Regions from separate parts of the Homo sapiens genome. Here region 2 is linked to region 1. Evidence: promoter capture Hi-C in 16 types of primary human blood cells and fetal thymus (Javierre and others, 2016). All regions are on one chromosome and are shown on one strand. Each heading gives the region's core, a stretch centred on a gene start or on the middle of the fragment in contact. The rest is flanking DNA. Distances are from core to core; before and after follow the strand shown.

What was found. The method cuts DNA at HindIII sites, captures the fragments that hold promoters and counts their contacts. A CHiCAGO score of 5 or more calls a contact.
Region 2: a fragment that was not itself captured here is called in contact with the fragment with the promoter of ZKSCAN7 in region 1 in 5 of 17 cell types (naive CD8 T cells, total CD8 T cells, endothelial precursors and 2 more); the score reaches 5.9 in naive CD8 T cells.

What each region holds. Positions count from the first base shown.
Region 1 is chr3:44,553,875-44,556,574 of GRCh38, forward strand. It overlaps ZKSCAN7 (zinc finger with KRAB and SCAN domains 7), which reads left to right and starts at 1,319. Exons shown (of 6, transcript NM_001288590.2): 1 at 1,319-1,607. RefSeq lists silencers at 1,073-1,122, 1,233-1,372. The HindIII fragment of the contact is 2,808 bases long and covers 346-2,700 here.
Region 2 is chr3:44,843,864-44,846,563 of GRCh38, forward strand. All of the region lies in intron 30 of KIF15 (kinesin family member 15), which reads left to right. It also overlaps the pseudogene HNRNPA1P77. Among named protein-coding and RNA genes, the nearest start is that of MIR564, 17 kb to the right of the region's middle. The HindIII fragment of the contact is 1,334 bases long and covers 716-2,049 here.

The DNA.
Region 1 (2,700 bases), core at 69-2,568:
CTTGTGTCTCCTATAATAGGAAGCCAGGACTGCAGGACAACACGTGGTCAAGGAGACCTGAAAATCAGGTCTGAGAGCATTTAGCCTGGCCTTGGGAGATTTCCTCCTCAAGAATCCTAAGCTTCTGGGGCCTTGATTTGCCTTCCACCTCAAGAATCCTAAGCTTCTGAGGCCTTGATTTGCCAGTAGGCAATGTCTAGCATCAATGTCAGGCAGAGGCTGGGGTTCCTGGTTTTAAATAGCCAAAACCTCCTTGTGAGATTTCCAAATGGAGAGGGGGACCTTGATGACAGGAAACCACCATTAGGATCAATGGACAAAGATTGCTCCAAGAGATTACTTTTAAGCTTGTGGAAACTCTGGAGCAGGACTTCTGGTGTCTTTGTTTCTATCTTGGCTCACACAGATATATGAGGAACATATGTCAGGGCCAGGGTTAGGCCCAGGGCACCTTTGAAATATTGCCATCCCTAGACAGTCCAGGAGACTGTTTACTTTGGGCCCTGTAAAGGACCTATCTCCTGTGCTATAATAAAGATACACAGTTAACTTCATCACACCCTTTGCCCTTCACCCGTGGTCATTAACACACAGGGCCTGCTCAACCATGTTTGTAACAAGGACCAGTTCATATCCTCCTTCTGTATGCAAACCATTCTTCAAAGTGAAAGTCACCTGGGTACCACCTGCCACCCAGAGGCTAGACAACTGCCTACTAGGTTACAAACTGTCCCCACACCTTCTCAGTTTATCTGCTTCTTGGTCTCCCTAGGAACCTCTACATGGACACCAGAATGCTGGTGCTGTCTTACGAAATATTAACCACATTTATGGGCCAAAATATCACAATTTCTAGACATGCTTCTTCATTTTTAAGATGGGAGATGCTTGCTGCTCCCTTCACTGAGACTTCAGATTGGGCATCACACATGGTATAACTGACTGCTCAGGATATGCCAGGCCTTTTGCTATGTAGTGTCTGTTAACCTCATGCGGTGCTCCCAGCCCTGTGAGGTACGCATTATGCTCTGCATTTTTTTCAGATGAGAAAACAGGCTTGGAGGTTGGGTATCTTTCCCAAGGACACCTGGAGGAGAAGGTGTAGAGCTGGGACGCGTCTGGATCCCCCGACTATGGCCTGAGAGCGGGATGTGAGTGGCCTGGGCCCTCGCGAGACCCCGACCCCGCCCGCGGCAGGTGGCCGGGCACAGCCGAGAAGTAAGCCCTGCCAGCTCTCCCGGGTGCGGGGACGCGCGCGCCCACCTTCGCAAACGAGACTTCCGGGATCCCGGAGGGGGCGGAAGTCGAGGCCTCTCTCGCTTCCGGCTCGGCCATTGTTTTTGGTCTAACGGGCAGTAGAGTGTCCGGCTTCGGTGCCGAGTGCCACCGCGAGTGGGCCGAGACGCGGAGGGAGGCGCGGCCGGAGCTCGGGTCGCCGACGCTGGCCAGGACCGCGCTTCTTCCCGGCGGCAGGCGGCGCGGTCCCCGTGACTCTCAGAAGCCGCCCGATGTAGAGCCGCTTCTTTGTCTCATACCCCTGACCATTCGTGCGTGGCACGGAGCCGGGTATCTGCGGGTACAGCGATGAACAGGGCAGACGTGGCCAGGTGAGCGGCGCTGCTGAAGCCTGGTTTAACACGAAAGGTAGATCGCTGTTTTCCCAGCTCTTGCAGTAGGAAACTGTATGAACTGTCATATTTGGGTCAGACCCAGGCTCAGAATCGCAAACGTGGAGCGTGACTTGGAAATGCAAAAATCCAATTGAGATTTTAAAGTGCTGAGCATTCGGAACACTATGGGAAGCAGGAGAATGGCCTGAACTTTCTACATATATGGGATCTTAGAGCAGAGTTTACAGATTATTTTAAAGTCCTTCTTTGTCTTTTTAAAGAGATTGAGACACAGGGATCTGGGCTCTTGGTGAACTGGAAGCACAGCACAGATGCCCTAGTTACCAGTAAGGTGCTGATTTTAAAACGTTCAAAGTTTTCCTCCACTTCAGTGTCAGCTAAATGTATCATATTCATTCATTTCCCAATTATGTGTGCCATGTGCACACGTGTACAAAGATGACTGGAAGTCAGCTCTGCCCTTTGTATCCTCCCAGAAAGCAGGGGAGACAGTCGTGTAAACCACAAACGATTACAGTGTGAGATGTGCTCTACTAGAGGTTTGAATGAAAAAGGTAGTTTGGGATCACTGAGACAATAACCACCTCTCTAAGCCTAGCGTGATCAGGAAGGCTTTCTAGGGGAGGTGCATTGAGTAAAAAAAGGTCTAGTATTTTCTGATTCCATTTGGTTCCTTTCCTTTGGTGGCCGTGCAGCAGTTTGGAGGGTGAGAGTGGTGAGTTGTGCATAAACCAGTTAAAGGGTTATAGTGAGAGGTACACAAAGGGAAGCTACCAGCACTCTTCCTGATGGGGCAATCAGGAAAACCAAGAAAAAGTTGCCTTTGTTCATGGTCTTGACAGACAAGTTTGCCAAAAGTTGAAGAAGAAAAATTCAAAGAAAGAGTATGTGTGGCTTCTAAGTGTGTCTCTAGAGCTTTAGCTCCAAACTTTCTTTATTTTGCATTTCTATCAGTAGAAGAGGTTTGATCACTTACTCCCTACATTGGTTTATTTGTAATTTAAACATGAATACTACTATACAAATTGTAATGCACATTATAAAACATACATTAAATAGGAGTTAAATA
Region 2 (2,700 bases), core at 133-2,632, 290 kb after region 1:
GAAAATGTTCATTTTCTCACAAGGAGTTTTAAAGATTAAAAATTACATGTATAAAGTGCCAGTTACAGTGTTTGGTAGCAGGTGTCAGTCAATGAAAAGTAGTTATTAAGTACACAAGGTAGAATTATGATTCTGCCTATTGTAACTTTCTGAGTGAGAGTTTGGAGATGATAGTGGCCTGTAAAATTATGCAAGAAGTCGAATTGAATCAAAGTGGGATCTCCGAGATAGAAGCCCTTACCGAATTCCACTGACTGCTGTCCATGCTGTTGCCACAACATCTTTGACAGAGAAGCTTGTGCACTCCTGCAGCTCCCTGGCCCTGTCCAGAAACACCCCTGATATGAGTTGTTCAAAACCTAAATGAGGCAGGAGAGATTTGAGGATGGTAATGGTGGCTATGCTAAAATCTCTTCTTAAATGATTCTCTTCAAATTTTAGTGAGCATCAGAGATCTTATTCAGTAGGGCTGGAGCGAAGCCCAGAATTCTGCATTTTAAAAAAGCACGTGCCTCCCTTTGTAGGTGATTCTGATGTAGGTAGTCCACAGTCTGCTCACCTAGTTTTCATATGCTCCATATATGTCCAATTCTATTAAAGAAAAGCCTTATATTTAGTATACTGTCTTTTGTCAAGAGCTACTGTGAACATAGAACATTTCCGGATCATTTGTAAAATGAAAATTTAAAATACCGTATTTCAGAGATACGTCATAAGCTTACTACTTTTGCCCATGGATGCCACTAAGGATGCATCGTTCAAGTCTTTCTTCCCACTACCAACATATCTAAGTCAGAGTCTCTTAAATAGCCCGAATAGCTACAGAAGCTCTTCATCAGACGATTGAGCTTTGAAACAACCAATAAGAGTCTGGGGAGCCATTCTGAGTAGTGAGGAAAGCTCATGGATTATATAGCAATGAGAGACCCAAACACCAAGCATTCCAGGGCCTTTGGTTTTTCACAGATGGCACTGTGGAGGAGATGGATGCAGCCGTAAATCAAGGCGACACAAGGCAGATGAAAGAGTTGTGAAACCAAAGAGGGATGTCAAGAAAAGATTCTCAAAGACCAGGTGCCTGGTTAACTGTAAAAAAGATCTTTGTTGGTGGCATCACAGAAGACACTGAAGAACATCACCTAAGAGATTATTGTGAAGGTATGAGAAAATAGGAGTGGTTGAAATCATGACTGAGTGAGGCAATGGCAAAAAGAAGAGCTTTACTTTTTTAACCTTTGAGGACAGCCATGACTCTGCGAATAAGATTGTCTCTCAGAAATACCGTAAAGTACATAGCCACTACCATGAAGTATGGAAAACCATGTTGAAGAAAGAAATGGTTAGTACTTCAGCCAGCCAGAGAGGTCAGAGTGGTTCTGGAAACTTTGGTGGTGGTCATGGAGGTGGTTTTGGTGGGAGTAACAACTTTGGTCATCAAGGAAAAATTTCACTGGTAATGGTAGCTTTGGAGGCAGCTGTATTGGTGGATATGGGGGCAGCAGGGATGGCTATAATGGATTTAGTACTTAAATGATGGAAGCAGTTTTGGAGATGGTGGGAACTACAACGATTTTGGTAATTACAACAACCAATCTTCAATCAATTTTGAACCCATGAAGAGAAGAAACTTTGGAGACAGAAACTCTGGCACCTAAAAAAAAAAGAAAGAAAGAAACTCTGGCCCCTGTGGTGGCTGAGGCTACTATGTTGCCAAAACATCAAATCAAGGTGGCTAAGGCATGTGAAAGTTGCCAGTACCAGAATGGAGTCACTTATGTCAAAACCCTAACAAAGTGGAGTCAGGAGGCCCTAAAAAAGTTCTCACCGCACATGCCTATAATATACCTTATCACAAGAAATTCCTGCAGGTCCCACATGCCCCACTTCTGCACTCACCCTGCAACAGAGCTTATCACAGGAATTTTTCAGGCCTGCAGTATTTCAGACAAGCTGCCAGCACCAGGACAGTTACTCAGCAACAGCCATCTCCACCAATGAATAAACGCCAACTCCTGCACTGAGCTTCTGTGACCCGTGAGCTTTATTTCAAGCTTTATTTCATGGATTTCTCTTTGTCTTTAAAAGCTTTCCCTTTCCCCAACTCCCCTGGATACATTAATGGCCCGTCATAGCTTGCATACCCTGCAATTGCAATCCCTCTGCTATTCCTAGATAAACTTGTTTGTTCTAAAGAGCCTGTCTTTCTGAGTTTCTTTTTAGGTTGACAGGCAGTTCCAGTAGCAGCAGTAGTTATGGCAGTGGCAGAAGGTTTTAATTAATGCCAGGAAACAAAGCTTAGCAGGAGAGGAGAGCCAGAGAAGTGACAGGGAAACTACAGGTTACAACAGATTTGTGAACTCAGCCAAGCACAGTTGGTAGCAGGGCCTAGCTGCTACAAAGAAGATATGTTTTAGACAATACTCAGGTGTATGGGTAAAAAACTCAAGGACCGTATTTGTGACTAATTGTATAACAGGTTAGTTTAGTTTCTGTTCTGTGGAAAGTGTAAAGCAGTCTTAACAAAGAGTTTTAATGTGTTTTTTTTTTCCTTTGCACTCATCCTGTTGATTGCCAAATGTCATAGTCTGATCATGATGTTGAATAAATGTCTTTTAAAAGATGTTTTTCACTGGGTGTCGTGGCTCACGCCTGTAATTCCAGCACTTTGAGAGGCCGAGGCAGGCAGATCATTTGAGGTCA